2 separate regions of the Homo sapiens genome follow, and region 2 is linked to region 1. The links are contacts of gene promoters, found by promoter capture Hi-C in human tissues and cell types (Jung and others, 2019). All regions are on one chromosome and are shown on one strand. The core of a region is centred on a gene start or on the middle of the fragment in contact, and the rest is flanking DNA. Distances in the headings are between cores, read along the strand shown. Region 1 holds the start of TMEM72 (transmembrane protein 72). Region 2 has its middle 14 kb from the start of LINC00619.

Evidence for each region. The method cuts DNA at HindIII sites, captures the fragments that hold promoters and counts their contacts. A contact is called where the count stands out against the background at its distance.
Region 2: a contact is called between a fragment that was not itself captured here and the fragment with the promoter of TMEM72 in region 1, in 1 of the 25 tissues and cell types used here (dorsolateral prefrontal cortex).

The regions. Positions count from the first base shown.
Region 1 is chr10:44,909,856-44,912,810 of GRCh38, reverse strand. It overlaps TMEM72 (transmembrane protein 72), which reads right to left and starts at 1,474. Exons shown (of 5, transcript NM_001123376.3): 1 at 1,229-1,474. The coding sequence starts at 1,298. All of the region lies in intron 2 of TMEM72-AS1 (TMEM72 antisense RNA 1), which reads left to right. The HindIII fragment of the contact is 5,310 bases long and covers 1-2,955 here.
Region 2 is chr10:43,830,165-43,833,145 of GRCh38, reverse strand. No RefSeq gene overlaps it. Among named protein-coding and RNA genes, the nearest start is that of LINC00619, 14 kb to the left of the region's middle. The HindIII fragment of the contact is 4,882 bases long and covers 1-2,981 here.

The DNA.
Region 1 (2,955 bases), core at 225-2,724:
ACTGGCCAGCTCACGGCTGAACCCAGCCCAGTGCTCCTGAAATGACCCAGCTTCCCATTGAGCTCTGGAGTGTGTCATGGGGGCTTCTGCTGAGAGGTTTTCATCCTCAGTTCCACTTAGCCATGCTCAGTTCCTGCATCCTTAATCTGTCCAAACACCTGGCCAGCAGGTCCCCATCATACAGATCAGAAAGTGCAGCCTCAGAGGGGTCAGGGGCTCCCCAAGGTCATATATCACGCAAGTGACTAGGCTGGGGCAGGAACAAGCACTATGTGATTTTGACCTAGGAGAACTTTCCCATTTGGTAAGACCCGTGGGTAAGCTTTTGCCCAGTGGTGGGGAAGGGCTTTGATAGGGGGTGTGTCTCTCTTTGTCCCCAAGGGACAATGTGGCTCAGAGTTAAGGGCTCAGAATTCTGCCTGTTCATTTCCCCAAAACAGATCCTGGCTCTGTAGGGGGAATGGGGCTAAGGGTCAGGCCTGCCCTGGGGAAGCGAGCAGGCAGGGCTCAGGATGGTGGCTCTGGGCTCTGCTCTAACAGTCTGCCCTCCTGTCCAGTTGAGCAGCCCTGTGATTCTGCTGGGTGAAGGAAGGAGCCCAGCATCTCTGGGAAGCATCTCTGCTGCTAAGACCACAGTGCATTCCTGCAGTCAGACCTCAGACAGGGGTCTGGGTTCCTACAGGGTGTTCTGTTAACAGGGTCCAGCATGGGCCCGAGGGAAGCCTGTGATCTCCACGTCCAGCCAGGCTCAGCCTGTCCCTCCAGGGCAGAGCTGCTCATGACTGGGAGTTCTCTCTCCATGAGGTAGGGCTATGGTTTGAGTAAAGCAGGATGAGCTCAGTTGACCTTTTGTAGATACACAGCGAAGCCCAGCCCTTTCTATCTTCACCTTCTGTCTCCACCTCCATCTCATGACAACTCTCTGCGTAGGTGGGGTGGCCCCTGGAATCATTTTGCAGATGAGGATCTTGAGGCTTCCCAAGGTCACAGGGAGGGTGACTTGCCAAGCAAAGATCCAGCACCCAGCCCTCTGGTCCCCAGCCCTAGGCTCACCCCACTGCACTTGCTGCTGCTCTACAGAGCAGTGTTTCTAGGGGTCTTGGGAAAAAAATTGAAGCACAGAAGTGGCCAGATGTGCCTGCTGTCTCCTGGCCACCTCCCACCCCTCAGGCAGCCCTATCTGTGGTGCCAGTGTGCAAGGATCAGCAGCCAGGAGGCAGGGTCTTACCTGCAGCAGTGGTGATGCCCAGGAGCCGGCAGGTGTATTCCAGCCCAGTCCAGAACACCTGGAGCTGCATGGTGCCAGGGGTGAGGACAAAGTCCTGGCAGGGCAGGCAGCAAAGTCTTCGGCCCTGAGATGCTCCCGAACACCCTTGTGTAGGTAGGAGGCTGCTGGCTGTGGCTGCACACCGGGGCCCTGCCTTCCCAAACCAGTCCTGGCCACCGCAGCCTGGCCGAGGTGTGAATAGGGCTCACCTTCTGTGCTCTCAGCCCGTGCCCTTGCCAGGCACTCAGCTTAATCATTACCTTGGAAGAATGCTCCTGCTGCTCACACAACCCCAGCCTGGGCTGGAGCCGCTCAGCCCCAGCGCAGCCCAGCCGCCTGAGATCGGCGATTAGGGCTGGGCTGGAGGCAGTCTGGAGCTGGCAATTAACCGTTTCTGGCTGGGAGGAGGGAGCCAAGGAGTGGGCCAGGCCCTTCCTCACCAAGCCATGCCTAGAAAGTCACACCTGGATTTCACACTTGCTGGGGGCCTGTAGTGTCTGGCTCTGGAGGGGACAGTGCTCTTGCAGGTCTGTGCTTATGTGCATATGGGAGAGAGGAGTGTGTCTTTAAATCACCAGTAGAAACAACTTTTGAAATGAGTTCCAAGCTTTATTCTTCTGCGTATAGGTGGATTAGAAAGCTTTTCAAATCTGTCCCGGATTTGGACTCTGACTAGACATACTTAGCTCAGGCCCCGCCACGCAGAGGCCTTCCTTCCTCATTAACATGCATCCCAACATGGGACGTGGGAAATCATTTTGATTCTTTGTTTTGCGAGGGGAGTTGCTATGTCAATAATTAACCGGGTGACCTTGGGGAAACCCAAAGGCATCTGTGAGCCTTGGTAACTTTTGCAGAAAATAAATGTGAAGTTTTGGCTGAATTGGTGTTTTTGATGTACTTGGAGTGTCCCTGTAGCTGTTTCAAGGAGCCCAGCCTTTACACTTGGACAGTGGTGGGCTTTCCCTCATTCTTAATTTACTAACGGATGTGCTAGATTGAATGGTATTAAGATTTATCTCTCAGGTGTTTTTCTGAAATCTTTTACCCCTTTGCTCATATAAGATAGAAAACAAAACAACCAAATAAGGAAAAAAACTCCAAGCAAACCCAATACACATGCTCCTCAACTTATGATGGGGTTATGTCCCAAAAAACCCATCAGACATTGAAAATATTTTAAGTTAAAAATGCACTTAATCCAACCAACCTACTGAACATCAGAGCTTAGCCTGGCCTACTTAAATGTGCTCAGAACACTTAGTTTATGGTTGGGCAAAATCATCTAACACAAGGTTTATGTTATAAAGTGTGGAGTAGCTCATGTAAGAATATATTGTAGGGCATGTTGCTAGCCCAGGAAAACATCAAAATCCAAAATTTAAAGTACAATTTCTACTGAATGTACATCATTTTCACACCATCCTAAGTTGAACCATGGAAAGCCAAGGTCTGCCAATAATAACGGAAAACTCAAGAACAATTAGTTTGGCCCTTCCCTCCCCTCCCTTCCCCTCCCCTCCCTCCCCTTCTCCTTCCCCTTCCCCTTCCTTTCTTTCCTCTTTTCTTTTTTTTTTTTTTTTTGAGACAAGGTCTTGTCTGTTGCCCAGGATGGAGTGCAGTGGCACAATCTTTGTGGCCTCAACCTCCCAGGCTCAGGCGATCCTTCCACCTCAGCCTCCTGAGTA
Region 2 (2,981 bases), core at 445-2,944, 1.1 Mb after region 1:
CTGAAACTATTCCAAACAAGAAAAAAAGAGGAACTCCTCCCTAACTCATTTTATGAGGCCAGCATCATCCTGATACCAAAACCTGGCAGAGACACAACAAAAAAAGAAAATTTCAGGCCAATATACCTGAAGAACATCAATGTGAAAATCCTCAATACAATACTGGCAAACCGAATCCAGCAGCACATGAAAAAGCTTATCCACCATGATCAAGTCAGCTTCATCCCTGGGATGCAAGGCTGGTTCCACTTAACATAATCAATAAACGTAATCCATCACATAAACAGAGCCAATGACAAAAACCACACGATTATCTCAATAAATGCAGAGAAGTCCGTCAATAAAATTCAACACCCCTTCATGCTAAAAACTCTCAATAAACTAGGTATTGATGGAATGTATCTCAAAATAATAAGAGCTATTTATGACAAACCCACAGCCAGTATCATACTGAATAGGCAAAAGCTGGAAGCATTCCCTTTGAAAACCAGCACAAGACAAGGATGCCCTTTCTCACCACTCTTATGCAACATAATATTGGAAGTTCTGGCCAGGGCAATCAGTCAAGAGAAAGAAATAAATGTATTCAAATAGGAAGAGAGGAAGTCGAATTGTCTCTGTTTGCAGATGACATGATTGTTTATTTAGAAAACCCCATCATCTCAGCCCAAAATTTCCTTAAGCTGATAAGCAACTTCAGCAAAGTCTCAGGATACAAAATCAGTGTGCAAAAATCACAAACATTCCTATACACTAATAATGTAATAGTACATTAATAATAATATACACAAACAGAGAGCCAAATCATGAGTGAACTGCCATTCACAATTGCTACAAAGACAATAAAATACCTAGGAATACAACTTACAAAGGATGTGAAGGACCTCTTCAAGGAGAACTACAAACCACTGCTCAAATAAATAAGAGAGTACACAGACAAATGGAAAAACATTCCATGCTCATGGATAAGAAGAATCAATATTGTGAAAATGGCCATACTGCCAAAGTAATTTATAGATTCAATGCTATGCCCATCAAGCTACCATGGACTTTCTTCACAGAATTAGAAAAAACTACTTTAAATTTCATATGGAACCAAAAAAGAGCCTGCATTGCCAAGACAATCCTAAGCAAAAAGAACAAAGCAGGAGGCACCACACTACCTGACTTCGAACTATACTACAAGGCTACAGTAACCAAAACTAGCATGGTACTGGTACCAAAACAGATATATAGACCAATGGAACAGAACAGAGGCCTCAGAAAATATGTCACACATCTACAACCATCTGATCTTTGACAAACCTGACAAAAACAAGAAATGGGGAAAGGATTCCCTATTTAATAAATGGTGCTGGGAAAACTGGCTAGCCATACGCAGAAAACTGAAACTGGACCCCTTCCTTACATCTTATACAAAAATTAACTCAAGATGGGTTAAAGACTTAAACATAAGACCTAAAACCGTAAAAATCCTAGAAGAAAACCTAGGCAATACCATTCAGGACATAGGCATAGGCAAAGACTTCATGACTAAAATACCAAAAGCAACGGCAACAAAATCCAAAATTGACAAATGGGATCTAATTAAACTAAAGAGCTTCTGCACAGCAAAAGAAACTATTATCGGAGTGAACAGACACCCTACAGAATGGGAGAAAATTTTTATAATCTATCCATCTGACAAAGGGCCAATATCCAGAATCTACAAAGAACTTAAACAAATTTACAAGAAAAAAACAAGCAACCCCATCAAAAAGTGGGCAAAGGATATGAACAGACACTTCTCAAAAGAAGACATTTATGTGGCCAACAAACATATGAAAAAAAGCTCATCATTACTGGTCATTAGAGAAATGCAAATCAAAACCACAGTGAGATACATCTCACGCCAGTTGGAATGGCGATCATTAAAAAGTCAGGAAACAACAGATACATATTTTATCAATTTAATGATTCCATTGTACATTCTGTGGCATTTAGCATATAGACAATAATGTATCTATGAGTAATTATATTTCTAATTATTTCACTCCAATCTTATTTCTCTTTTTACTTTTTTTAATTGACAAAATTGTATATTTATTTAAGGTGTATAACATGATGTTTTAATATATGTATATATTGTGAAATGACTAAATCAAGCTAATTAACCTCACACATCTTTTTTGATGGTGAGAAAATTTAAAATCTACTCTTTGAGCAATTTTCAAGCATATAATACATTGTTGTTTCCTATAATCACCATGTTGCACAATAGAATTCCCACTTATTCCTCCTGTCTAACTGAAATTCTACATTCTTTAACCAATATCTTCCCTGTTTCCTACTCTCCAGCCCCTGGTAACCACCTCTCTGCTTCTGTGAGTTCAACTCTTAGACTCCACATATAAGTGAGACCTTGTAGTATTTGTCTTTCTATGCCTGGTTTATTTCACTTAGCATAATGTCATCCAGGTTTATCCTTGTTGCAAATGACAGGATTTCTTTCTTTTTAAAGGCTGAATAGTATGTTGTTGTGTATATATACTATATTTTTCTTATTCATTTATTTGTTGATGGACAGTTAGGCTGTTTCCATATCTTAGCTCTGGATAATAATGCTGCAGTGAACATGGGAGTGCAGATACCTCTTCAACATAAGTATTTCATTTCCTTTGGCTATATATCCACAAGCATAATGGCTCGACCATATGGTAGTTCTGTTTTTAATTTTTTTTTTTTGAGATGGAGTCTTGCTCTGTCACCCAGGCTGGAGTGCAGTGGCACAATCTCGACTCACTGCACCCTCTGCCTCCTGGGTTCAAGCGATTCTCCTGCCTTTGCCTCCCGAGCAGCTAGGACTACCATGCCCAGCTAATTTTTGTATTTTTAGTAGAGACGGGGTTTCACCATATTGGCCAGGCTGGTCTCAAACTCCTGACCTTGTAATCCACCTGCCTCAGCCTCCCAAAGTGCTGGGATTACAGGCATGAGCCACC